4 separate regions of the Homo sapiens genome follow, and all the other regions are linked to region 3. Evidence: promoter capture Hi-C in 16 types of primary human blood cells and fetal thymus (Javierre and others, 2016). All regions are on one chromosome and are shown on one strand. Each heading gives the region's core, a stretch centred on a gene start or on the middle of the fragment in contact. The rest is flanking DNA. Distances are from core to core; before and after follow the strand shown. Region 1 holds the start of CYB5R1 (cytochrome b5 reductase 1). Region 2 holds the start of RAB29 (RAB29, member RAS oncogene family). Region 3 holds the start of MDM4 (MDM4 regulator of p53). Region 4 holds the start of NUCKS1 (nuclear casein kinase and cyclin dependent kinase substrate 1).

The links. Contacts are between HindIII fragments. The CHiCAGO score rates a contact against its expected background, and 5 or more counts as called.
Region 1: the fragment with the promoter of CYB5R1 here is called in contact with the fragment with the promoter of MDM4 in region 3 in 6 of 17 cell types (naive B cells, naive CD8 T cells, non-activated CD4 T cells and 3 more); the score reaches 9.3 in naive B cells.
Region 2: a contact is called between the fragment with the promoter of RAB29 here and the fragment with the promoter of MDM4 in region 3, in 2 of 17 cell types (total CD4 T cells and activated CD4 T cells). The highest score is 5.3, in total CD4 T cells.
Region 4: a contact is called between the fragment with the promoter of NUCKS1 here and the fragment with the promoter of MDM4 in region 3, in 3 of 17 cell types (activated CD4 T cells, fetal thymus and naive CD8 T cells). The highest score is 6.5, in activated CD4 T cells.

The regions. Positions count from the first base shown.
Region 1 is chr1:202,964,730-202,971,446 of GRCh38, forward strand. CYB5R1 (cytochrome b5 reductase 1) reads right to left here and starts at 2,528. Exons shown (of 9, transcript NM_016243.3): 1 at 2,462-2,528; 2 at 2,020-2,169; 3 at 1,799-1,871; 4 at 1,158-1,264; 5 at 642-771. The coding sequence starts at 2,476. RefSeq lists silencers at 2,436-2,485, 2,556-2,715, 3,332-3,626. The HindIII fragment of the contact is 3,400 bases long and covers 102-3,501 here.
Region 2 is chr1:205,770,606-205,777,254 of GRCh38, forward strand. RAB29 (RAB29, member RAS oncogene family) reads right to left here and starts at 4,877. Exons shown (of 6, transcript NM_003929.3): 1 at 4,668-4,877; 2 at 4,228-4,481; 3 at 1,891-1,962; 4 at 867-1,048; 5 at 128-249. The coding sequence starts at 4,351. RefSeq lists an enhancer at 3,742-3,791. The HindIII fragment of the contact is 8,570 bases long and covers 1-6,649 here.
Region 3 is chr1:204,510,558-204,517,725 of GRCh38, forward strand. MDM4 (MDM4 regulator of p53) reads left to right here and starts at 5,849. Exons shown (of 11, transcript NM_002393.5): 1 at 5,849-5,952. RefSeq lists enhancers at 4,331-5,242, 5,103-6,302, 5,243-6,153, 5,592-5,721, 5,732-5,811 and 1 more. The HindIII fragment of the contact is 1,369 bases long and covers 5,440-6,808 here.
Region 4 is chr1:205,745,656-205,752,922 of GRCh38, forward strand. It overlaps NUCKS1 (nuclear casein kinase and cyclin dependent kinase substrate 1), which reads right to left and starts at 4,527. Exons shown (of 7, transcript NM_022731.5): 1 at 4,302-4,527. The coding sequence starts at 4,318. RefSeq lists a silencer at 3,701-4,300 and an enhancer at 4,721-4,970. The HindIII fragment of the contact is 8,985 bases long and covers 120-7,267 here.

The DNA of each region.
Region 1 (6,717 bases), core at 1,278-3,777, 1.5 Mb before region 3:
AAAGTCAATACAGCGAACTTAGAAAACAAATGCAGAGTTGAAAATATGCCTGAGGCCAGTTGAGCAGCTGCTATGACATCTGATCCTGGAGCTTGGGTGGAAGCTTGAGTTGAGCCAGCCCTGACAATAATATAGTTGAGGGACAATGGGGCCAGGGCTATCTGTGAGTCAGTTCAGCGCCACACAATGTATCAGCTGCTTCTGGCAAAGTGTCACTCCCTGGTGAAGGAGACAGGCACAGAGCCAGGTGTGAATCTATTTTCCCAAGTGGCACACAGCAGCTCCAGGGACTTGCTAATGCACCCAGCTGTTCCCATGGGAAGGGCTGAAAGCTATCTCTGGCTCACTCCACAGCTCACCCAGGGGGGCAAATTTTTGAAGGTGGGGAAGAGGGGCACATGTTTGCTTTAGTAATCTCCACAGCTGCCATGGCTAGGGAATTCAAGTGGAGGAGGAACTGCTTCCTGTGGCAAATGGGGCTGAGAAACATGCCTTTCTATTGTATCAGCGCTATGTTTAGAAGGAAGGGCGGCCCTGGCCCTTACGTGCATACACATGTGTACACACAGCCATACTGTGCCAAGAGGACTATGGGAACTGATAAAGTGGGAGACAGGCTCAAGGAGAAGACAGGTCATTACCTTTTCCAGTGTAAGTGAGCAACCCGCTTGGCCCCCGAAACTCCACCACATCCCCAACCTTCAGGCTATCCAGGTACTGAGACATCTTCCCTCCCTCAGGAAATTTGGGGTGCACACCCTTCAGGTAGACCTTACAAGACAGAGAGAAAAATACCTTATTTGGAATGTCACTGGTTTCTGAGCCCCATGTTGACTAAACCTCCCTGAGGCTGGGGCAGGGATCAGATATGTGCTATCTTTTCCCCGTCTACATACTTTCTTTCTTTCTTTTTTTTTTTTGAGTCAGAGTTTTGCTCTTGCTGCCCAGGCTTGAGTGCAGTGGCGCAATCTTGGCTCACTGCAACCTCCGCCTCCTGGGTTCAAGTGAGTCTCCTGCCTCAGTCTCCTGAGTAGCTCATACTTTCTTCACATCCACAGAGTACATACCATTTCCTGCTGTCAGGCAAATCTTAGAAATTTCTACAAATCCCAGAAAGAATGGGTAAGCAGCCCCTGGGTCCCTTCCTAGCCCCTTACCTTGATGACAAGATCCACATAGCCTTGATCCTCATCACTGGTGACAGGAGTGTATGGCCTGATGACCAGGCTGCCATCAATTCGGGTGGAGAGGTAGATATGTTTGCCTGGGGACCGTGCAGAGAGCTACATAAGGGTTGTCTGTGATGTGCTGCATCCCTCAAAATACTCAAAGAGATTTGAGAGAACAAGATGTCTTGCTTCCTGCTGTGGTCCCAAGGAGCTACAAGGCAGGGAAGATTTGCCCCATTGAGCCCTCAGTTGGATCTCTTATAAGCGCCCAGTTGAGGAAACACTTATTTCCAGCGTTTCCTGCCAGTTACTGCCAGGACCTTGACAGATGAGCCAAAAGGGTCTGGGCAATGGGAAAAAGTTAGTAGTGCTTGCTCAGAGGGAGTAATTAGCAAATCCTGCAGGGAAGAGGCAAGACTGTTGAGTGTTAAAGCTGGATGGGGGTCATGGAAGCCACACTCTAGAGGGGCCCAGTGGCACCTCACAGCTTGGAGGATGCAGAGCCAAGTGGGGGAAGGGGAATGGTGTGTGGAGCAAACCGGTTGAAGCAGCGTGTTTCATGAGATCCCAGGAGGGGAGTCACCTTCTGAGGATACCAGGGAAAGGAGCCCATTCCACACTTTCCTTACCCACAGGCAGCCCCAGAGTGTGGTGGGCGGTGGGCAGGGCAAAGCGGAACCTCTTGGTGTTGTGGCTCACAGTCTGGAGGGTGGAGGACACAAGTGTTTCACCAAGCGCGCCTGGCGCTGCCACGTCCCTTGGACATCCCAACCACCGTGGGTGCTGTACCCTCCATGCCAGGAGCACTCTGGTCCCCTCCTTCACCCTGGCCCTTTCTTCCCCAACTTACCGTCTTGTCTAGCAGTCGTAGCAGGTACTTTTCATTGGGGTCCAGGAGAGTGACCTGAGGCCGGCGGGACCTCCGAACCAAGTAGGAGCCCACAGCCAGGCCGAGCAGAGTGACCAGCCCCACCCCCAGGGAGGCCAGCAGGACGGGGCTCTGTGGGTAGAGGAGGCAGCGTGACCGCCAGGCTGGGTAAGAGCCCGGGGCTTGGGTGGTGACCGTCCCAGGGGTGGCGATCCCGAGCTCCAGCGCGGAGGCATGCCAAGGGCAGAGGGGTAACCTGGCGGAGTCCCGAGCCCGGATGTGCGGGATCGGGACCCCAGCATCCACGGTGGGCCCAGAGCCCTGCGGGGCGGGGTCGGCAGCGACAGCCCCTGGTCCGGAGCTGAGTGGCCAGAACCAGATGGGGAGGGGTCCCCCAGTGGAGGATACTGAATGAGGGTCTTACCGTCTGGATCCCCATGACGGAGCGCCTTTTCCTCCACCACCTGACAAGCCGACAGATCCCACAATGCGCCGCGGGGCGGGTCGGAGGGCGGGGCAGGCCGGGGGCGGGGCCGGGCAGGAGGCAGGACCTCGCGGCTGGGGGGGCAGGAGGCGGGGCCTGGCGGGGGGGGGGGGGGGTGTCTGTCGGGGGCGGGGCCTAGCAGGAGGTGGCGGCGGCGGGGCCTTTTGGGGGCGGGGTCCGGCAGAGGCGGGGCTGGGCCCCTCTGCGCGCCACCCTTTCCCTCCGCTACTCGGTGGCTCAGGGTCTCCGGTGCTTATTCAATACTTTTTTTTTTTTTTTTGAGTCGGAGCCTCGCTCTGTCGCCCAGGCTGGAGTGCAGTGGCGCGATCTCGGTTACTGCAACCTCCGCCTCCCAGTTTCAAGTGGTTCTCCTGGCTCCGCCTCCCGAGTATCTGGGACTACTGGCGTGCGCCACCACGCCCGGCTAATTTTTTTTTTGTATTTTTAGTACAGACTGGGTTTCACCGTGTTGGTCAGGGTGGTCTCGAGCTCCAGGGCTCAAATAATCTACCCGCTTCGGCCTCCCAACGTGTTGGGATTACAGGCGTGAGCCATCGCGCCCGGCCCCAAGATCTTTTAAGACCGCAGCTCCAGCCTCTCCTCCCAGCGAGGTGGTCCCTGCCACTTCGACCCGCTTATATCCGAACTGGATGGGAGTTCTGCCTAAGGTAGAACCACGCTAAATTGGGGGATTGGAAATCTCTTGAGTCTGCGGGTGCTGAGCGGAGAGTGTAACGATGAACCAGAGACAGGCTCAAAGTAGAGCAGAAGGGCCTGAAGTTAATCATTGTGCAGTCACCTTAGTTTTTCAACCGGCTGAATTGCAGCAAGAGAATGGAACAGCCCAGAGGAGTCTCTTACAGGAGTGAACAGTGGCATGGCAACTTCATTTCCTTTTGACAAAAGACTGATTTTGTTTACAGCGCCAAGCCGTCAGCCTATCAGGATGATTCAGGAGCTTCCTTTGGTTTCAAAGACCAAGCTTCACATCCTGATTTGGGTTCTTGTGCCCTTAGGGTCAAAGAAGTGGGCTTTGGAGGCAGAGTGTACAGAATAAGAATCTTGCCTCTAGCACTTATTGGCTCTGTGACCTTAGATAGCTTACTCAACCTGAGTTTCTTCATCTACAGATGGATATAAGATGGATATCTACAGATGGATATATATTATTATCTACAGATAGATTGTATCTAGTTCATAGCTTTGGTGTGAGGCTTCAGTGAGATATGTTAACGTGCTTAGTGTAGTGCCTGTCATAAAGCAAAATATTCAACAGTTGGCAGCTACTATTATAACTTAAAAGACAGCACAGAGGGTCAGCTATGGTTTTAGGAATGAGCTCTGCCTGGGGCACAAGCATGGGACAGGAGGAGGCAGGAAAAAACATCAGGAGCCGCTGGAGCTACAGATTTCCCAAGATGACCATTCTTTCTCATACATGAGTTTCTCAACTAGAATGACATTTGCTCTTTGATATACCGTGATGGATGAGATCTCTGCAGATGTCAGTGTCAACATCTTAAACTAATACCATCAGGGCAGCAGGGACATTAGAGCCCCCAGTTTTCAGTTGTATTTGGTGAACTCTGTGAATGATCCAAGAGATACTTAGTTTTCCTTTTCCTCTCCACTGGCTGAAAATGTTCCTAAGACCCCAGTACATGTTCCTCTGAATTTTTTAAGCAGCCTGCACACTGACTTGAGGGAAGTGAGTGCACCAGATCATGGTGACATGCCAATCCATGCAGAGAGGGTTGAAAAGGGGAAGGAAGGGACCCTTCCTCTTTTCTGTTCCGAGAGAATGAGGCGATTATGTTCCGGTGCTTCTGACATCCCCACTGCTGGCTTGGTTAAGAAGCCACACTACTGATCCTTGCCACTGCTCCACTCTGGCTAAAGAGGTTCTAGGCCTTCCTCCCTCTAGTGGATAGATGTGGCAAGAGAGGGGGAAGTATGGAACGAAAGGAGAGCATAACTACAACTCGGGCTTCTCTCAGTGATTGCATTTTCTGAACCCCAAAGTGGCACATTCTAACAAGTGTGAGTGTATCACTGGGAACCACAGGACAGAATGGTTGGGTGTGGGCTTATCCTGGAAACTAAGTGTTGGACTCAGTAATTGTGGGAAGGCTCTTTTGCTCCTGAAAATGAATGCTGCAGGAGTGGTGGGAAGGGGCTGATGGCCTGGCAGGTCTTCCTGTCTCAGATTCTGTGGTGAATTGAACTCCACTCCACCACGACTCATGGTAATCTTACATTACTCCTAGTTTGGAGGAAAAGATAGGCATTTCTGAATTTTTATTTAACCCAATCTTTTAAGTTTAGGATTTCCTCCTGGGTATACAATAAAGAATAGAACAGGCTGGGTTCACGCCTGTAATCCCATCACTTTGGGAGGCTGGATGGATCACTTGAGCCCAGGAGTTTGAGACCAGCCTGGGCAACATGGCAAAATCCTGTCTTTACAAAAATACAAAAATTAGCCAAGTGCGATGGCGCTGGCCTGTAGTCCTAGATACTAAGGAGGCTGAGGTGGGGGTATTGCTTGAGCCTGGGAGATCAACGCTGCAGTGAGCCATGATTGCGCCACTGCACTCCAGCCTGGGCAATAGAGCAAGACCCTGTTTAAAAAAATATATATATATAATGTAGTGTGAGGGGGAAGTAGAATTTCAAACCTGTGTTTTATAATTCTGAATTAGGATGTAAAACTCAGTGGCCCTTTTTAGATAAGATATCCAGAAAGAAGCTTGGAGGAAGACTTGCTCATACTGAGGAGATGGCATGGAGGAATCAGACCAGGAGATGTAATAATGACAAAAAAATTAACATTTATTGAGCATGTGCAATATAGCAAGAACTAGGTAAATTGCTTTTCACGTATTCTGACAACATCCATTTAATCCTGACAACAACTGTGAGATAGATATTATCATTAGTAGTCTCATTTTATGGAGTGGGGGGAAACTGAAGTTTAGGACAAGTAAGTCACTTGCCCAAGATCACCTACTAAATGGCAAACTCAGACTGCATACCAGGCAGCTTGATGTTGAAAACTAACAACCTCACACCCTTTTTGAACTTTTCTTTTTTTTTTGAGACGGAGTCTTGCTCTGTCACCCAGGCTGGAGTGCAGTGGCGCAATCTCGACTCACTGCAACCTCTGCCTCCCAGGTTCAAGTGATTCTTCTGCCTCAGCCTCCTGAGTAGCTGGGATTACAGGCATGCGCCACCATCCCCGGCTAATTTTTGTACTTTTAGTAGAGACGAGGTTTCACCATGTTGGCCAGGCTGGTCTCAAACTCCTAACTTCGTGATCCGCCTGCCTCAGCCTCCCAAAGTGCTGGGATTACAGGCGTAAGCCACCGTGCCTGGCTGAACTTTTTAGTATGGAAACTATCAAACATATACAAAAGTAGACAGAACAGTATAATAAAGCCCGACGTACCCATCACCCTCTTCAACAATTATTAAATCATGGTCACCTTTCTTTCATTTCTTCCCCAGTCCGTTCCTTCCTCCAGTATTATTTTTAAGCAAATCCCATATTTTTTATAACTTTGTCCTTAAATATTTTAGTGTGTATCTTTAAAAGCTAAGGACTTAAAAATAACCATAATACCATTATCACATGTAAAAATAATTAACAACAATTACTTAGTTTCATCAGATAGCTAGTCAGTGTTCAAAGTTCCACCTGTCTCTTTTTTTTTTTTTTTTTTTTGAGATGGAGTCTCACTCTGTCGCCTAGGCTGGAGTGCAGTGGCATGATCTTGGCTCACTACCAGCTCCACCTCCCAGGTTCACGCCATTCTCCTGCCTCAGCCTCCCGAGTAGCTGGGACTACAGGCGCCCGCCACCACGCCTGGCTAATTTTTTGTATTTTTAGTAGAGACGGGGTTTCACTGTGTTAGCCAGGATAGTCTCAATCTCCTGACCTTGTGATCCATCCTCCTCGGCCTCCCAAAGTGCTGGGATTACAGGGATGAGCCGCCGTGCCCGGCCTTTTTTTTTTTTTTTTTTTTTTGAGATGGAGTCTCACTCTGTCACCCAGGCTGGAGTGCAGTGGCACGATCTCGGCTCACTGCAACCTCTGCCTCCCGGGTTCAAGAGATTCTCCTGCCTCAGCCTCCTGAGTAGCTGGGATTATAGGCGACTTCCACAGCGCCCGCCATGGCGCCTGGCTAATTTTTGTA
Region 2 (6,649 bases), core at 3,627-6,126, 1.3 Mb after region 3:
GACCTTTAGGGGCTAGCATTCCAATGGCTCAGTCTGTCATTGTTGGCTCAGAAATAAGAAAAGAGGGTCCACAGGGCCACAGTGGAAGATGGATACATCTGCATGCCTATCAGCATGAGCTACTTACCTCATAGCCTCATTAATATTTTTGTTCTCCTTGACTGATGTTTCTGTCCAACCTGTGAAACCGTTCTCTTTACTGAACCGGTCAATCTGGTCCCGGCTCACTGCCCAAGGGGACAGATCACACTAGCAAAGAGAAAAAATAAAAGGCAGTATCATAAACTTCCTGCAACTAAGAAAGAATATGGCTCAGATACTGTGGATTTTAAACATATTTCCACCAATGGATAAGAACACCAGCATCGGAAATCTATAATCAACATTCTTCCCAAAGAAAGTCTCACCCTTGGCTGGGCGCAGTGGCTCACGCCTGTAATCCCAGCACTTTGGGAGGCTGAGGCGGGCAGATCATGAGGTCAGGAGAGCGAGACCATCCTGGCTAACACAATGAAACCCAGTCTCTACTAAAAATACAAAAAAATTAGCTGGGTGTGGTGGTGGGCACCTGTAGTCCCAGCTACTCGGGAGGCTGAGGCAAGAGAATGGCGTGAACCTGGGAGGCAGAGCTGGCAGTGAGCCGAGATCGCGCCACTGCACTCCAGCCTGAGCAACAGAGCGAGACTCCGTCTCAAAAAAAAAAAAAAGAAAGAAAGTCTCACTCACCCTCAACATCCTTTGAAGGAGGTAGAGATGATTTTGCCAACTTAAGAAGGGGAAATGGATGCCCAGAATCAGAGAGCATTTTACTTCCTTTCTAACCACAGATAGAGGCTAGGGACCATTTTCTGAGATTGGCCACATACCTTGTTGGCCAAGAGCAGGCAGGGCACCGGCTCTCCATTGGGTAGTGTGAGCTTGCTGTCTAGGTCCTGTTTCCACCTCTGGCTGTTGCTGAAGGTAGTGGCATTGGTAACGTCAAACATAATAACACAGGCAGAGGCATCCCGATAATACAATCGTGTCATAGAGGTGAAGCGCTCCTGCCCTGGGGAGAAAGGGGAGAGTTCTCAAGGTGACCCAAGAGCCGGCCTCTCCCCATTCCTTGTAGAAGAGGGCAGTAAGCATATGTGTCAGATGGGGCCACTCACTTTCCCCCTCTGACTCTTGGTTTTCTATCCCATAAAGGGATAATGAAGCCCAATTATTTCCAAGGCAGATTCCGCACCCAGATTGCTCCAGTCCAAATCCCTGCTCTGCTGCATACTATTTGACTTCGGGCAAATCAAGCTCTCAGTGCTTCAGATTTCTCATTTGTAAAGTGAAGATAAAAGCAGTCGCTTTTTTTTTTTTTTTTTGAAACAGTTTCCTGCACTCCTGTTGCCCAGGCTGGAGTGCAGTGGTGCCATCTAGGCTCACTGCAACCTCCACCTCCCAGGTTCAAGCAATTCTCCAAAAGCAGTAGCTTTTATGATAGGGTTGATGTGAGGATTAATGAGTCAGTGAATTTAAAATACTTAGAAGAATGCTTGGCACATAGTAAGGATTCACTATTTTTACTGTATCTATTTTCTGGGGATCTTGTTTTTCACCAAGGTCAGCCTTAAACCTAGAAAAAGCACCCTCCCCTGCTGTGGGAGTGTCCACCTATAGTCTGGACAATCCACCACCTTGCCAGCCCCTCCATCCACATAGAGACTGCTCCAGATCTATTCAGGGCAAAACATCTACAAAAGCTCTGCACCTATTCAGCTCATGTGTCCTCAGAGCAGCTCAATCATTCCAGCTTCAGAAAAACAATTTCTGGCTTTGCTGCCCCATTTTTTCCTCAGAGCTTTCTAGTTAAATCAAAATTTCTTCCCTTGTTCCTATCTAGCCCTCCCACTTTACCTGCAATATCCCACAGCTGAAGCCGCACTATCTCGTAGTCAGACCACTGGAGAACCTTCAGAGCAAAATCCACTGAAAATATATGTACATTATACTTTAATAAAATTTCACTGTAAAAAATTAATAGGGATAAACTCAAATCAAATAGGCAGTGAAACCCTATGGACACACAACTCCAATCCCATATGTTTAACTTTAAGCCCTCAATTCACTGAGATGAGTCCACATGCGTGTATTTAGTGTGAGATGGATGATTCATACTCACTCTCCAAAGGGGTTTCCAGCTTTTACTCTACTGTCAAGCTCATTTATTTGCTACTGTTTGTCTCCAAGACTGGGGGTGGGAGTAACTATGAAAACAATTCTCATTCTCAGGTTAAATAGTTTCTGGGAGATTTAGGGGGTTTTCTCAGGGAAGGGGTGATGGGGGAGAAGGGGGAAATGAGACAAGTGTGGTTGCTTTCGTATCTTCCACATTCAATTTCACTGTTGGTTTCTAATCAAATTGTATTATGAAAAGAACACACCCTGGGGAACTCTACATCCACCATAAGGTTGCAGGTATTATCTTGGGCAAGAATGGAATAAATGGAAAAGGTCCCAGAGGAGTCCCAAGAAGAAGACACTGTGTGGATGTTGCTGAAGAGTCCTGCTGGAATCTACCACCAAGTCTGCAGGTGCTGAGACTCCTTAAGGCTGAGTAAGTATTCCATGGGGAAAGCCTTTTGGCTAAGGAGAGAAACAGAGTAATTTCTGAGGTTTGGAAATATTATCTTTCACATCTGTGACAGGAATCAAAGCTAAGGGAAATTTAGACTAAACACTGAAAAAAAAATTAGCCAATTATATTCTTTGCTAAAGGAAAACTACAGCAATTGTTAAAAATTAACTATTAATAGCAGGCCACTTTTAACCCAAATCCGTGAAATAGGGACCCTTATATTATTTAGGAGTGGGAGGGCAGAGCGGTCAGGATAGAGTGTCTGAAACTTTGAACCTTTAATTTTGCCAGACTTAAATTTTTTGTTCCTTTGTTTTTGAGACAGGGTCTCACTCTGTTGCCCAGGCTACAGTGCAGTGAGTGGTGCGAACGGGGCTCACTGAAGCCTCGACCTCCCCAGTTCAAGCAATCCTCTCGTCTCAGTTTCCCGAGTAGCTGGGACCACGGCTACTTTCTTCTTTAATTTTTGTAGAGGTGGGGGTCTTGCCATGTTTCCCATGGCTGGTCTCGAACTCCTGGGCTCAAGCAATCCTCCCGCCTCAGCCTCCTAAAGTGCTGGGATTGCAAGTATGAACCACGGTACTGGGCCCTACTGGGGGTTCTTAAGGAGAATGTTTTAATTGCAATGTAAATGTTTGTTAATTTCTTTTTAAACTTCCATATGAACAGGAGCACACATTTTCAATTTTTCCATTGGTACGAGTTTTCCCCCCTTGAAACAAGTTCTTTTAACAGAGAGAAATAAAATTTTAAGTTACTCTCCCCCATCACCAGCTCTTCCTAGCTAAATACCTTCTAATTAACAATAAGGCATTTCTGCCTCTGAAAAAATAGTTGAGTCCAAAGGCCACACCCGGGAAAGAAATGAATGAACTCGGTGTCCCCTTCCTCCCTACCTTCTCCAGTTTGAGGAAAAAAGTGGTGGGAAGATAGGTCAGAGAAGTGGTATATTTCACATTCTTGGAAGAATTCCTTGGTTACCTTTATTTAAGCAATCAACGGACAAAAACACAGCTCATCAGCCCTCATGGGCATCTGACTGCGTAGCCAAGGGGCTCGTTCGGGGATTTTGTGTCTTCCATCCCACCCACAGCCCCACAACAAAGCTACAGTCCTTCAGACCAGTTCCGCTTCCTGCGTTCTCCCACTGAAGCCAGGTTAAACACCTTGCGGTTCCTCCCTCAACAGAGGGGCAGGACTACAGCCCCAGCCGGCACCTAACCAGGAGGCCCCACAGAGGATCTCAGCTGCTTCTGCTGATTGGAGAGATTTGCCGGACAGCTGAAAGGCTGGAGACTTAAGTTCACAGTACGCCTGCAATAAACAGCAATTGCTCATCCTCATCCTCCCTTCCCTATTTCTCATCTTCACGCCTTTGCTCTTACCTTTCTCCTGGCAGTGGGCTCAGTTTGGGAAAATCTAACGGGAAACTCAAGAGAGGCGTGTAAACCAAACACCCGGCAATTACACCATCTAGGTTCCCAGACAGTACTTCCTGACCCGAAGAAGGACCCAACAACCGACAGCAAATCCCCACCCCACTTGGGTCCCCAGCTCGAGTCCGCGGTCGGGGCCTCCTCCTCCCCCTCCCCCTCCCCACCCCCGAGACGTCTCACCTCCCACCGTGGACTTGTAGTGTTTGCTGAAGCTGTCCTGGGAATATCGCTGCACCAGCGACGTCTTGCCCACTGCGGCGTCCCCCACCACCAGCACTTTGAACAGGTGGTCGCGGCTGCCCATGGCTAGCGGGGTGTGCGTTTTAGGGAGGCGGGAAGTGTGGTCGGGGATCGGGGGTCGCTCGTTTTAACCCCTTTGGATCCGGACCCTCTTCAAACTGAAGTGAGGCATTCCCACCCACCGCCTGTCTGGGCTGCTCTGACGAGAAAGCAAAAAAGGAAACTTTGCACTCAACCTATACGCGCTTCCTCCCCGGGCGGCCGCAACCTGGGTGGGGCGCAGGGCGCGAGCTCCGAGCCCCCGGCTGTTCGCACCTTCCCCACCCCCTCCTGGCCTGACTGCCGAGAAACTGGACCAGGCGCCGCGGAACCTCACCCACCGGGACTTCCCCCGAGCGGCTCCAAGTCAGTGACTGAATCCCAGTCAGCTCCTTACACCACTGGGGCCAGATGATGGGGACCCTCCCCTTGCAGCACAAACCAAATTGTGAGGAAGGAGCAGCCGGCACCTCGATTCCCTAGACGCCCTCCCGCGCGCCTCTCTCTCCCCTTCCTCCGCAAGCGTCACGTGCAGGGTTGCCTGTGGCACTACATTTCCCAGCTTTCCTCGCGGTAAAGAGAACCAGCCGAGTGCGGAGGCTCACCGCGAAGCCTCCTGGGAAATGTAGTATATTCGTTATTTTGTTTTAAGCAAACCTACACCAAGTTTCAAGGCTTCAAACTCCCTCGACAGTTTGGAATCTTATTTTGAAACAATTCTAGGTCAGTAAAGATCCCTTAAGGGGAGATTTGTGCAACGTGATCTCACTGGCCTGAATCCATCCCCAGATAGTTTTCTCCTGTCTTTAAAGGTTTAACTGAGTTAAGATTGAAACTTATTTCATTAGTAAAAGCCCAAGCCTCATCCATCATGCTCCAAGTGAAGTCCATTTCCTATTCCTTCAAGTAGATAGACAAGCCCAGGACTTTGTGAAATGACTCATATTTTCTGTGTGAACTTGCCCAATACCAGGCAAGTTCAGGAAAACTTGACCCAAGAGACCAGTCTTTGGAAAAAAACCTATGCCAAAAATTACAGCATTTAATATCCAGCAATAACAATAAAGATGGACAGAAAACAAGAGACAGTTCTCCATTCATACTTCTACAATGCCTATTCTAGCCATACTACTCATGTATCACTTGAGCTAGAAGCTAATTGAAATACACTGGGACTCCTTCTTGATTTGTTGTGGCTGTTGTTAATAGATAATCATAAAACTAGTGTTTGGCAAATAATTTTAATTTCTCAGCCTGTAACTTTACTGACCTACCTGTCACTTGGGTAGAAGTTGGCAGGACATGAGCTCAATGGCAAGCAAAGAGAGCTCCATTTTCTATACTTTTCTAGGAATAGAGGAAGAGAACCAGCGGGGCCATGGGAAAACAGCCCAGGACCAGACACTAGGAAATCTAGGTCTCTTGATAGAGAGGCTATCACTTATGTTTTGTGGCGAAAGAACATCAGCATGGTTCACAATATATTTTGCCCAGAATGTTCGTTACCCAGGTACAGGAGGTTAGTTCAAGCTACTCATCTTTAAGGATCCAGTTTTCTCTGTTCTTATTCGTTTTGACATAGTTGACCACTCCTTGACATTTGTTTCCCTTATGCCTTCTATGACGCTGTTCTTTCTTTGTCATCCCCGTACTTCTCTGATGATTATCTTTTTCTTTCAGGTTTCTCTCCATCCCATTTCCCGCTAAGTATTTCCTAAGGCCTGATTCTTGGTCTCTGAGTCAATCATTCGATAAACTCTTTAGTGAATTGTCCTTGGTGTCAAAGATCTATCTTCACTTTATTTGTTCTTTATCTCTGATCAGTGATATTCTGTCAAGACCAGCTCTGTTGGGGAGACCCTAACCCAGTGGCGCTAGAGGAATTAAAGACACACACACAGAAATATAGAGGTGTGAAGTGGGAAATCAGGGGTCTGATTTCCTTTAGAGCTTTTAGAGCTGAGAGCCCCGAACAGAGATTTACCCACGTATTTATTAACAGCAAACCAGTCATTAGCATTGTTTCTATAGATATTAAATTAACTAAAAGTATCCCTTATGGGAAACGAAGGGATGGGCCGAATTAAAGGAATAGGTTGGGCTAGTTAACTGCAGCAGGAGCATGTCCTTAAGGCACAGATCACTCATGCTATTGTTTGTGGCTTAAGAATGCCTTTAAGCGGTTTTCCACCCTGGGCGGGCCAGGTGTTCCTTGCCCTCGTTCCTGTAAACTTACAACCTTCCAGCGTGGACGTTAGGGCCATTATGAACATGTTACAGTGCTGCAGAGATTTTGTTTATGGCCAGTTTTGGGGCCAGTTTA
Region 3 (7,168 bases), core at 4,599-7,098:
AGCCTGGGTGACAGAGCGAGACTCTGTCTCAAAAAAAAAAAAAAAAAGGAACCTTAAGTCGATAAATATGAAAAAGTGCTCAACCTTACTAATAATCATGGACCTATAAAACAAACCACCATGAGAAACCATTTTGCATCTATCAGATTGTTTTTTATAATTTGAAAATGCCAAGTACTGGCAAACATATGCAAAGATAATTCTTTTTTTTGACAGAGTCTCACTCTGTCACCAGGCTGGAGTGCAGTGGCGGGATCTCAGCTCACTGCAACCTCCGCCTCCCGGGTTCAAGCGATTCTCTTGCCTCAGCCTCCCGAGTAGCTGGGACTACAGGCACTCACCACCATGCCCAGCTAATTTTTGTATTTTTAGTAGAGACAGGGTTTCACCGTGTTGGCCAGGCTGGTCTCAAACTCCTGACCTCAGGTGATCCGCCCGCCTCGGCCTCCCAAAGTGCTGGGATTACAGGCGTGAACCACTGCACCTGGCCAAGGTAATTCTTATACACATCTGTCAGGAGTGAGTATTTTTCTGTGATCACTTTGGAGAGCACTTTGGCATGGTCTAATAGGGTGGACAACATATATAGTCTGTGACTCAATCATTTCCTCTAGAGTACACACGGAGATAAGCATGAGAATGATAACAGCATTGTTTGCAACGGCAAACGATTGAATAATGCCTAAGTATTTATTAAAGGAGGAGATGAATAAAAATTGTGGTGCATCCGTTACTATTATGGGCTGAATGTGTCCCTCTCAAACATCATGTTGAACACCATCCCCAGTACTTCAGAATGGGAATGTATTTGGAGACAGGGCCTTTAAAGAGGTGATTAAGGTAAAATGAGGTCACATGGATGGGCCCAATATGATTAGTGTCCTCATAAGAAGAGGGGATTAGGATATAGACAACATACAGACAATGGGCAACCACACAAGGACACAGTGAAAAGACAGGCTGCACTCCAGCCTGGCAACAGAGGGGAACTCCACCTCAAAAACAAAACAAAACAAAACAAAGCAAAACAACCACAAACAAAAAATTAGCTGGGCATCCTGGTGGGTGCCACCTGTAGGATTACAAGATTATACCTATAATCCTAACACTTTGGGAGGCCAAGTGGGGAGGATCACTTGAGGCCAGGAGTTCAAGACCAGATTGGGCAACATAGTAAGACCCTGTGTCTATTTTTTTAAAAAAATTAGAAGATGAGCAATTACTCACAAATCAGTGTCAACCATGATAGGAAAAACTCTATTCTTCACCATGGCCTAGTCAACATATTTATCAAGCCAAGGAAAGAGGGCATCAGGAGAAACCTAACTTGCTAACAACTTGATCTTCAACTTCCAGCTTCCAGAACTATGAGAAAATAAATTTCTGTTTAAGCCATTCAGTGGTACTTTGTTATGGCAACTCTAGAAAACTAATACAATTACTATACAACAATTCATTATACATTTATACAATTCAGTATGTTACTGTAGAACAACGTTAAAACATTAAAAATGAATTAACCAGGGCCAGGTGCGGTGGCTCACACCTGTCATGCCAGCACTTTGGGAGGCTGAGGCGGGTGGATCACGAGGTCAAGAGTTTGAGACCAGCCTGGCCAACATGGTGAAACCCTGTCTCTACTAAGAATACAAAATATAGCTTGGCGTGGTGGCGCGTGCCTGTAATCCCATCTACTCCGGAGGCTGAGGCAGGAGAACTGCTTGAACCCTGGAGGTGGAGATTGCAGTGAGCCAAGATTGCGCCACTGCACTCCAGCCTGGGTGACGGAGCAAGACTCTGTCTCGAACAACAACAAAATTAAATTAACCATAACTACACGGTTTAACAGCACTGAACTTCACAATGCTGAGCAAAAATGTAAGTTGCAGTAGACCACATATAGTTTGATGCCATTTATAAAAATTTTAAAAGCATAAACAGATTTTTAAGGAATATATACACATATAAACTCTAAAAGTCTAAAGAAATGCATGGCAGGGGTACATACCAAATTCAAGATAGTGGTTCCCAGAGGATGAAGAAAGGAGATACCATAGAGGTGACTACAGGGAACTTCTTTGTATGTGTATTGTTCTTAGGAAGAGGAATGGGAAAAGGGACATCATATTCTTTTTTTTTTTTTTTTTGAGACAGAGTCTCACTATGTTTTCCAGGGTGGAGTGCAATGGCGCCATCTCAGCTCACTGCAACCTCCGCCTCCAGGGTTGGAGCGATTCTCCTGCCTCAGCCTCCCGAGTAGCTGGGATTACAGGCATGCACCACCACACCCGGCTAATTGTTTTGTATTTTTAGTAGAGATGGGGTTTTGCCATGTTGGGCAGGCTGGTCTTGAACTCCCGACCCCAGGTGATCCGTCCGCCTCAGCATCCCAAAGTGCTGGGATTACAGGCCTGAGCCACTGCGCCCAGCTGGGAGATCATATTCTTTATACCTTTTGATATGTATAAAGTCATTAATTATATTTTTTTTTCAGAAAGGCTATAGACCAATAATACTGACTTTTAATTTTTTTAAAACTAGAAGGGCCATAAGAAATGGCTGAATTCAGCCATTTTGTTTTACAGATTAGGGAACTGAAGACCGGAAACCTGTGTAACTTCTTCTGTTTTCTACAAATAGCTAGACTAGAACCCAGATTTCCTGTCTTTTTATTCGAATCAATGGTTTGTGAGCATAGTTCTTAAAGAAGGAAGTGGTGATCACTCAGTTGAGTTTTTAAGCCAATTTCCAATTTCATTTCTTTCTTTCATTTCTTCTTTTTTTTTTTTTTGAGATGGAGTCTTCCTCTGTCGCCCACGCTGGAGCGTAGTGGCACGCGCCTGTAATCCCAGCAATTTGGGAGGGTGAGGCAGGAGAATCGTTTGAATCTGGGAGGCGGAGAATGCAGCGAGCTGAGATCGTGCCACTGCACTCCAGCCTGGCAACAGAAGGGAACTCCGTCTCAAAAACAAAACAAAACAAAACAAAACAAAATAACCACACACATAGAATTAGCTGGGCGTGCTGGCGGGTGCCACCTGTAGGATTATAAGATTACACCTGTAATCCTAACACTTTGGGAGGCCAAGGTGTGGGGGAGGATCACTTGAGGCCAGGAGTTCAAGACCAGACTGGGCGACATAGTAAGACCCTGTGTCTATTTTTTTAAAAAAATTAGAAGATGAGCAATTACTCACAAATCAGTGTCAACCACGATGGGAAAAACTCTATTCTTCACCATGGCCTCGTCAACATATTTATCAACGTTTTGTTTTTTTTGATTGACTGAGATAGAGTCTGGCTCCATCACCCAGGCTAGAGTGCAGTGGAGCAATCTCGACTCACTGCAATCTCCTCCTCCGGGTTCAAGCAATTCTCCTCCCTCAGCCTCCCGAGTAGCTGGGATTATAGGCGCCTACCACTGCACCCGGCTAATCTTTTTTGTATCTTTAGACAGTGTTTTACCATGTTGGCCAGGCTAGTCTCGAACTTCTGACCTCACGTGATCCACCTGCCTCGACCTCCCAAAGTGCTGGGATTACAGGCATAAGCCACTGCGCCGGGCCCTCGAGATTTTAAATGAAGACGAATTAAAGATGTTGGTCAATATTTTGCCCAAATTGAAAAGGCTTATCTCTCTTAACCTAGAGGAGGTTAACTGCAGCTCATCAATCATTGCACTTACCACATTCTTTTTACCTGGACAGTCTGATTCCTCCACTAGACAGATTTCAGGTCTTGTTTTGGAATCCTCTAGATTGGTGCTTGGCACAAGTAGGATGCTCAGCTAATTAATTTTTTTTTTTTTTTTTTTTTTTTTTTTTTTGTAGAGATGGTGTTCTCGCTTTCTTGCCCAGGCTGGTCTTGAACTCCTGGGCTTAAACGATCCTCCCACCTTGGCCTCCCAAAGGGTTGGGATTACAGGTGTGAGCCACTGCACCTGGCCTCAACAAATACCTGTTGATCTCACACAAACTGAATTGCATGAACAGATCATATTCCAAGGCTCCAGGAGACATTAGGAAAGGATCCAAACTAACCAGATGCTATTTAAAAGTTACAAAAAAAAAATTCCTGTTGAAAGTTTTAAAAAATACTAATTGCACAAAAGGACAGGGGAAATAGTTGACAGTGGTTCACCTAAAAAAGCACCCTTGACCTTTTTTTTTTTTTTTTTGTGAGTGAGGTGGTTGCAGATTTCTATGAAAAAGAAGTTAATTCTTCAGCTCCTTAATGGAACCCTGGATCTCCCAGCTATGCAGGAGGTTATGCTAGAAGTAGAACAAAGCGGAATGTACAAATTTAAGGAAGGTTACTGCCCTGTGTTCTTTTGCATGGGTCTGTATCTAGCATTGGGAGCCAGGTTTTGTTGTTGCTTATTGGGAGAGATAAGAATGGTATATACACAAATAACTAAAAAAAAAATACGTGGTAAATGCTAAAAGACAGGTGCAAAGAACACTGAGATGGAGCTTTCTTGGGTTACACAGCCAGTTTTAATGTTTCCTAATATAGAAGAGCTTTCAACAAACCTCTCAGGCAGGCTGTCTTCAAATGACATTACTTCCCCCAAATACCTAATTTCATTTATTTCAGAACAACTCTAAATGTTAGAGGATTTTCTGAGCTTAAAAATACTGCCTTGTAATTTCTATTGGTTTTAGTTCTGCACTTTGGAGAAGAGAATAAGGCTCCGTTATTTCCAATATTATACTATTCAGTTATTTGAAGACAGCTTCCAATTTCTATGCTCAACCCTTTCCCTCTTTTTTTTTTTTTTTTTTTTTGAGATGCAGTTTCGCTCTTGTCGCCCAGGCTGGAGTGCAATGGCGCTATCTCGGCTCACTGCAACCTCCGCCACCCGGGTTCAAACGATTCTCCTGCCTCGGCCTCCTAAGTAGCTGGGATTACAGGTGACCGCCACCATGCCCCGCTAATTTTTTGTATTTTTAGTAGAAACGGGGGTTTCGCCATGTTGGGCAGGATGGTCTCGAACTGCTGACCTCAGGTGATCCGCCCGCCTCGGCCTCCCAAAGTGCGCTGGGATTACAGGGGAGAGCCACTGCGCCCGGCCTCCCTCGTTTATATGCAGGTTAAAAACTCCCTTGAGCCTTCAACTATTTCTTTTTCTTTTTTTTTTTTTTTTTTGAGGAGTTTCGCTCTTGTTGCCCAGGCTGGAATGGCGCTATCTCGGCTCACTGCAACCTCCGCCTCCCAAGTTCAAACGATTCTCCTGAGTAGCTGGGATTACAGGCATGCGCCACCACACCCGACTAATTTTGTATTTTTAGTAGAAACAGGGTTTCACCATATTGGTCAGACTGGTCTCGAACTCCTGACCTCAGGTGATCCGCCTGCCTTAGGCCTCCCAAAGTGCTGGGATTACAGGCGTGAGCCACAGCGGCTGGTGCTTTCAACTATTTATTTGACATGGCTTCAAGCTTCCTTGCCACCCTAGTGCCGCCATCGCTCCGTTTCCCTTCCCTACCACCCTTGGGGAGTAAGGGTGAGGACTGGGGAATGGCAGAGGAAGCGTAGTTTTTCCGAAGAGCTGAAGGCAGCCTGTGATTATGACCTTAGCTCTTCCTCTTCTCTGTTTTCTGATCTCCTAATACACGTCTGTAAATATCACAAGACCCTGCAAGTCCCTCACTTATTATCTCTTCAAATCTGACGACTTTCAACCGTTCGGGCCCCACGACTCTCTCCCCGGACTAGGATCTACTCTATGGTAGTGAGCTCAGCCTTTCTAGCTCTCTAGTCCTCCCATTGCTCCATCTATGGTTTCCGGAGGCCTCACCGGAAGCCCTCGTGTGAGGCCGTGTGGGAGGCCGGAAGTTGCGGCTTCATTACTCGCCATTTCAAAATGCTGCCGAGGCCCTAGGATCTGTGACTGCCACCCCTCCCCCCACCCGGGCTCGGCGGGGGAGCGACTCATGGAGCTGCCGTAAGGTGTGGCTCTTGGCCTTCGTCGGCGGGGTGCCGGGAGCGGGAGCTGGAGAGTGAGGAGCAGGCGGCCGTACCGCCAGTTGTGCGGGTAGCGGGCGGGAGGAGCTTGAGAGGTGGGTCGGGCGGCGTGGGGAAGGCCGCGCCAGGCGGAAGAAGGGCTCGGGGGGAGGGGAAGAGTTGTGGGATGAGGGCTCGCGGAAGATAAAAGTGGAGGTGGGGTGACGTGAAGTAACTTTGGCCAACAGGTGACAAACCTAAAGTCGACGTAGTTGGATTGAGTTTAACTGGACACAACATTTGAGGACTGTTGAGGCAATTTGGAGAAAGGAGGTGGGAGAGAGGGAACCGGGTAGAATGACATTGACGTGTCTTAAGTTTTTAAGTTAGTTTTTAGGTCTGCGGACAGTCTACCTTAGAGGCACTTGAGTGCTTGTTTGAAAATGCTTGTTTTGGCTTGGCGCGGTGGCTCACGCCTGTAATCCCAGCACTTCAGGAGGCCGAGGTGGGTGGATCTACCTGAGGACAGGAGTTCGAGACCAACCTGGCCAACCTGGTGAAACCCCGTCTCTAGTAAAAATACAAAAATATTAGATGTGTGTGGTGGCGCATGCCTGTAATCCTAGCTACTCGGGAGGCTGAGGCAGGAGAATCACTTGAATCCGTGGGCGGGGGTTGCAGTGAGTCGAGATCGCGCCACTGCACTCCAGCTTGGGCTACAGAGGGAGATTCCGTCTCAAAAAAAAAAAAAGAAAAAATGTTCGTTTTGGGGCCACACTGAAACCTACAGACAGTATCGAGATGGGGCTCAGAGAAATATATTTTAATGAGCACACCTCCCAGTGATTTTTGTATACCTTAAAGCTTGAAAACCACAGGTTTTTTTGGTTGTGTTTTTGTTTTGTTTTTGTTTTTTTTGAGTGGAGTTTCGCTCTTTTTGCCCAGGCTGGCGTGCAGTGGCGCGATCTTGGCTCACTGCAACTTCTGCCTCACGGGTTCAAGTGATTCTTCTGCCTCAGCCTCCCGGGTCGCTGGGATTACAGGTGTGCGCCACCACGCCTGGCTAATTTTGTGTTTTATTAGAGATGAGGTTTCACCAGGTTGGCCAGGCTGTTCTCGAACTCCAGACCTCAGGTGATCCGCCCACCTCGGCCTCCGAAAGTGTTGGGATTACAGGCGTGAGCCACCGTGCCCGGCCGAAAACCACAGTTTAAAAGCAACA
Region 4 (7,267 bases), core at 3,277-5,776, 1.2 Mb after region 3:
CACTGAATACTAGGCAAGAAAGATTAGTACCATGGAAAAAAAATGCTAGTTTTGTATTCAGATCTGAGCTCAAACCTTAGCTCTGCTATCATAGCTCTGTAACTGTAACATATTCTTTAAGCTTGTTTTGTCATGTTACATGGTGATAAAGAAAAATACTTGTTACAGGGTTGTAATAAGGATAAAACAAAGTGAAAACCTCTAGCACAGTTCCTGACTGCATTTTTTCTCAATGTTTGTTGAAAATGAAAACATTTTAAACATTTAAAATGAAAATTTTAAACACTGTAATTTTCAGGTAATTAATTACATGTATGTTGAGCAAAAGTGAATACTTTTCTTATAAAAGTAACTTTCCGGCCGGGCGCGGTAGTTCACGCCTGTAATCCCAGCACTTTGGGAGGCTGAAGTGGGTGGATCGCCTGAGGTCAAGAGTTCGAGACCAGCCTGGCCAACATGGTGAAACCCTGTCCCTACTAAAAATACAAAAGTTAGCTGGGTGTGGTAGTGGGCACCTGTAATTCCAGCTACTCTGAGGCTGAGGCAGGAGAATCACTTGAACCCGGGAGGTGGAGGTTGCAATGAGCCGAGATTGCACCATTGCACTCCCGCCTGGGCAACAAGAGGGAAATCCCATCTCAAATAAATAAATAACTCCCCCATTATTCAGGCATTGTAAATTATGTATCTTTGATGGCATGTCTTTGAAGGAATTATGTCTTTTTAGAGGAAACTGACAGGTAATTTTAAAAAGTATAGATCCAAGGTTAATAAACTCACTTCTCTCTCTCTCTCTCTCACACACACACACACACACACACACACACACACACTAGAGAATAAGAGAATGAGCCAGTCTCATCTACAACCATATTAAACTTGTGTCTTCATGTGCACATTTGGTAACACATTTTGAACTACCTTGAATTTTCAAGTTTCTAGTTTTTCTCTTTAGCTGAGGACTTCTTGAAACCAATTGTTTTGGGGGAGAGAATATTTTTAGAATCCAGGCATGGCCCAAACAATTCTCTTTGAAAAGAAAGCAAACTGGAATCCTGGGAAAGCCGTTAATTCTCAACACTACTTATAAACATGACAAACAATAAAATAAATTCTATAACAACTTGTAAGAGCTTATGTTTTCACATCTAAATTTTCAATGGTAAGGTTCCTTACAATCTCAAGTGTTAAACAAAAGGTATCAAGCACACTTAGGTTACAAGGAGAAGCAAAAAGATTGGTTTGAGCAACCTGGATCACTTTCAATAAGGGAGGAGGATCTCTGGAGAGTGTAACAGCTGAATTTCAAGAAATCTGGTTTCTAGTTTGGGCAAGTCAGTAAATCTGAGCTTTCTTTCTCACCTCTTACAAGTAATGGCATTTTCCTTCCTTCCTCACAAAGTTGACTCATGAAAGCACTTAAAAAAGTTAAAAATGTTACATACTATGTTCTTTAATCAGCACTAATAACATTAATATTGATCGGGCAGAAGGTACAGCGATCATGCGGGTGGGGACCAGAATTGGGAATTGGGAATTGGGAAATCTAGGTTCTCAGCCCAACATTTGCACCTGCTAGTTCGTGATGCAAGGCACCTCACTTATCCAGGTCCCCATTAAACTAGGTTTAATAAAGTGAGTTTGCCTAAACCTCTTCCTAGCTCCAAGGCTAATTTTAAGCTATTAATTTGAATCCAAGGCCTAAAATATTTGAGCTCTCATTTAACAGTCGGCCACTGCAAAGGGTAAAGACAGCAATCTTGTATGAACAAAGTTAAACATAACGTGCTAGACACAGGTCTTTGCAAAACCATGCAGTAGCCAATAGGTCCACCATACCACCCTTCATTTGGAAATTGATGCTAAGGTGCCATAGGTACATTTCCAAATGCTCTTAAAATGTTTAGGTTCATATTAAAATAAAAATGGATATTTATGGTACAATGAGAACCAGAAAAACTGCAAAATTATACACAGGCCTAAGGGCAGAAATACCCCAAAAGACGACACAGTGACAATATTTTCCAACTTGTGCTTTTTTGTTTTTAAAACAAGGCTGATGATTCTGAAATCAGGTCAATGTCTATCACTTTTTTCGTTGATGTTAAATGCACTAAGGGAATATAGATTCTTCAATTATACTTTGAAACAACATCATTTCCCTAAGTCAGGACTTTTTTATTGCAAAATTTAACAAACCACCAAACTCAAGTTTAATTATTTCTGCTTTATTATTGGTCATGAATAAAGACTTCTTTTAAAAAATAATTACAAAGAATTTATGACTAAAATATACTCCGTAACCAACTTGCTCTGAAATTAATAATTTGAAAATGGCAAAGAAAAAAAAAAACAGCCCACAACATATTAACTTCACTCTTCAATTAGGGGAAATAAACAAGGTCAAAATTAGTTTAAACAACATACTGAGTAATAAAAAAGTTGTGCAGAAGTCCCAATGCCTCCAAAAAACTGATAGAATGTGCTTAATATATATATCCCCACATGGTAACATAAAAAATCCAAGTTTTCCAGTAAAAATGTTCTGTTCATGTTCCAATACCTAAATCTGGGAAAACAAATTCAGGCAGATGAGATAAGAACGTCACCACAATAAAATAAAGTCATCAAAACTTAGTGAACTAAAATTTAAAAGGTAGAGGAATTATTTTTCCTAATTTGACCTAATTTGACCACACAGTAATTACTTCCAGAAGACAAAAGATCCAATCCAGGTAAAATAAATCTTTATTTTATTATTTTACCTGATCCTAAAGAAAATATTCTACGTGAGTTGATGGATACATTGGTCAAGTTTTATGCCAAAAAAATTACGCAAACTATACTCTGAAAGAGCTATCCAGACTCCTTGCCAAAAGGCCAGCATAACTTTCAGAGTAGAGATCGTGAGTTACCACAGATGCTGATTGAAACAGAGCTAACAGCAGCTTTCTCCTCATTCCCACCCCGTGTGTAGGAGTACGCAGTCTCATACCACCACCAGTTGGAGGATGATCTAGTCTGGAGACAGAACGGTGTAGAACAAAACCCTTGCCAGGGTCCCAAACCTCTCTTTAGAACTCTAATTAAAGGTACTTCCGTTTCCCACACAACTTGGAATGAAGGGGAAGCAACGACTGTTAAAACATTTAAAAACTAAGCCTTTATCTATTTATTTAGAAAACACACTATGCAAAGAAGCCAATTCCTTACATTAAAAATATTTATTTGCAACAGCTCTCCTTTTTAAGGCCTCAACAGATTGGACTAAACCACACCCCTCCATAAATGGCACATTCCATACAATAGCCTGGAGAATGGCATAGGACGATTCCACCGACAGCTGGGGGAATAGCAAACTTGTTGAAATTCCGAGAATGAAGTCTGATGGTTACCCGAACCTAGCCCTTTTATTACTAAAGTCACTCGGGGACAAGAGGGTTACAAAAATATCCCGAGACGCGTACGCGGGTGAGAGTGGAACGAGAACCACACGGGATTTGGGCCGTGCTGTTAACCCGCACCTCCCTGAGTACGGACATTTCCCCGAGGAAGGACATTTCTAGTCGGAGAGAAAGAGCGAACTTTGGGGTTAACTCTCTCAAAACTCTGAGGTGGGGAGAGAGGCAGCAGCCCATTATTTTCCAGGATCCAGTCCCGAACTCTCACTTTTGCCCGGGGGGAAAAAAACGGGTCCCGCCCACGCTCGGCCCGATCCGGGAGGCGGGGCCTGCAGCGACCCCGAAGGACAGAGGCGGGGCCGGTTGGCAGTGCTGCCCCTCCCCCTTTGCCAGGAACACCCCCGTCCGCTACAGAGAGGGCTCAGGGCCCCCACCCCCGCGCCAGTCGCTGGGGGAAGGGGCAATACGGGTGCCTCCGCCCCTCCTCGCTGAAGGTGGGGAGTGGAGCTCGAGTCCGCCCGCCTCCCCGCGCTGGCTCCAAGGGGACGGCCCCGAGGAGGTGGGGCCTCTTGGGGGCGCTGACTTCACACCCCTCCCCCTCCGGCCGCTGGCGGCTCAGGGACACCCCGCCCGCTCTAGTGCGGTGGGTGGGGGAGGCAGCTGAGCAGACCGGAGCCCTGCAGCGGCGCGGGGCGGGGAGGGGCGCGCGCACGGGCGCGCAGCCACCACCCCCGCGCGCCAGCAGGGCCCCCCACGCTCAAGGGTGCGCGCGGGCCCCGAAAGGGAGGAGGCCGCGCGCGGCACCGGGGATGGCGGACTCTAGCCTTCTGTCCCCCACTCTTTTCACCACTCGCCCCCATCCCCCTCCAACCCGCTCCAGGCCTCAGACTCCGCACTGACCTGACAGGCCGCGACATGTTCGCTGTCGAAACAGGACCGAGTCGAGAAGCCAAAGACCAGGACCCCCCCCACCCCGCGCGCTCGGCGCCCCACCCCCCCCGAACTTCAGCCGATGGGACCGCTGCTGCCGAACCCCGAGCTGCTGGCTTCTCAAACTCCGCTGCTCTTTGGTTCAGGGCTCCTGGAACAGACGAGCCCCCCGCTCCCCCGTCTCTTCAAAATGGATGAATCAAACCAGCCGAAAATGCGCCAAAGCCGCCGTGCAACCAAACCCACTAGGGTTTGTGCGCTCCTCCCCAACACGCCTGCTCATTGGAGACTTCTGCCAGATGCGCCCAGATCATTAGTCCGTTTGAATCATCACGTCTTCCAGGCCCCGCCCTGCTCTCTGATAGGCTCCACCTTCACCGTGGGGGTCCTGTTAGTCAAGATGCTCTGAGAGCGCACGGCCGCAAAACAAAAATGGTCGCTGCTTAGCCCGCCCCCTGGTTTCCACTCCAGAGTTGCAGATTCGTCTGGGGTCGTATCTTAGAAAGACTAGAAAAAAAGATTTATGTAGGGTTCAGCGTTGCTCAGTGTTAGTTTAATGGTGTTTCATCTCGTCTGCCTTGATCACCTTGAAAATCCTCTAATAGCAAAACCCGTGGGAGAGGCAGCAGATTCGTCACTGCGGGGCTGCTACAGAATTGGAGGGAAATTCCTTAGGTTCAAAAAATTTGACCTTAAACCTACAAGCCCCTTACCCTGGCTTCGGCATTAACCCTCAGGGACCAAATGAGGCTGCTGGAGTAGAGAGGCAGGATCATAATCAAGGAATATCTTCACCCCCAATTACCATTCTCCATTCTGGACCTTGAGATCCACTTCAGGGTCATTAAAGTCCCAGTCTGGTGCATTACTATTTTAAGAAAAGAGTCAGGTGTACAATAACTAAGAGCATGAGCTCAGGGGCCACAAGGTATTTCAGGTGGAATCCCAGGTCCACTACTTAATGGTGGTATAACTTTCCTTCTCTGTGCCTCAGTTTTCTCATCTGTAAAATGGGAAACAAGGGTACCTAACTGCATAGGCTTATTAGTATTAAATGAGTTGATATATCTATCAAAAGTCTTTAGGATAGTCTCTGGCTCACAGTAAGTGCTACGTAAGTGTTAAATCCAAGTTTTAAAAGATGATTCCGTCCCTGGGTAGAGATGGGTGGAGCTGGCTCAAGACCCTATGAATTCTATTGATTTACCCTTGCACTTTGAAAAACAAAACAAAGACTCTTCGAAGTCATATAACTGAAAGTAACGCACATCATTTCACTTAAATCCGTGAGCATTTGTTGGATGCCTAATACTCTCAAAGGCAGAGCTCAGGATTCCTATGTGAATGGCTAAGGCTGAGTCTGCTATCGAAAATAGACGTCAATCCCTGTCACAGTCAAAGCGATCATTTTTGTTTGGTGGCTGTGCGCTCTCAGAGCATCTTGACTAACAGGACCCCACGGTGAAGGTGGGGCCTATCAGAGAGTAGGGTGGGGCCTGGAAGACGTGATGATTCAAACGGACTAATGATCTGGGCGCATCTGGCAGAAGTCTCCAATGAGCAGTCAGTTAACAACCAATTGAAGATACACTTTCCAAACAACAACAACAAAAAACACACCACATCTGCCTCCTGAAAGTCTCCCTTTGTAAAATCTGGCTTCCCAAAAAGAAGAGAATAGCACAGTCCACCAGTGAAGCATTAAACAAATTAATATCTTTTGTCTCTTCCATGTCATTCCACCCTCTGTCCCTCTTATTTTTATTTTTAATTTTTATTTTTTCGAGACGGAGTCTCACTCACTATGCTCCCCAGGCTGGATTGCAGTGGCACGATCTCTGCACACTGAAACTTCCACCACCCGGGTTCAAGCGATTCTCCTGCCTCAGCCTCCCAAGTAGCTGGGATTACAGGCGTGCTCCACCATGCCCAGCTAATTTTGGTATTTTATTGTGGAGATGGGGTTTCACCATGTTGGCCAGGCTGGTCTTGAACTCTTGACCTCAAGTGATCTGCCTGCCTTGGCCTCCCAAAGTGCTGGCATTACAGGAGTGAGCCACCGCACCCGTCCCCCGCAATTTTTTTAAATTGTGGTTAAAAAAAAAATACATAACATAAATGTACCACTTTAACTGTCTCTAAGTGTACAGTTAAGTGGCGTTAAGTACATTCACATTGTTATGCAACCATCACCACGATTCAACACCAGAACTTTCTCATTTTCCCAAACTGAAACTCTGTGCCCATTAAACACTAACTCCCCACTTTCCCCCTTCCCCATAGCCGCTGGCAACCACCATTTTACTTTCTGTCTGTATGAACCTGACTGCTCTAGGAATCTCATGTTAGTGTAATCATACAGTATTTGTCCTTTTGTGACTGGCTTATTTCACTTAGCATAATGGCATCCAGGTTTATCCATGTTGTAGCAAGTGTCAAAATTTCCTTTCTCTTAAAGGCCAAATAATATTCCACTGTATGTATATGCCACATTTTGTTTATCCACTCATCCATCAATGGACACTTGGGTTGCTTCCACCTTATGGCTATTGTGAATGATGTTGCTGGGCAAGTGGGAGTACAAATATGTTTGAGTACCTGCTTTCCTTTCTGGATATATACCCAGAAATGGAATTGCTAGATCATACAGCTATTCTGTTTAATTTTTTGAAGAATTGCCGTATGGATTCTCCATCAGCTGTATCATTTTACACTCCTACCAGCAATGTGCAAGTGTTCCAATTTCCCCATGTCCTTGCCAACAGTAAGTTTTTTACAATAGCCATCCTAATGAGTGTCCATATACGGTTTTTTTTTTTTTTTTTGAAACGGAGTCTCGCTCTGTTGCCCAGGCTGGAGTGCAGTGGTGCGATCTCTGCTCACTGCAAACTCCGCCTCCCAGGTTCACGCCATTCTCCTGCCTCAGCCTCCCAAGT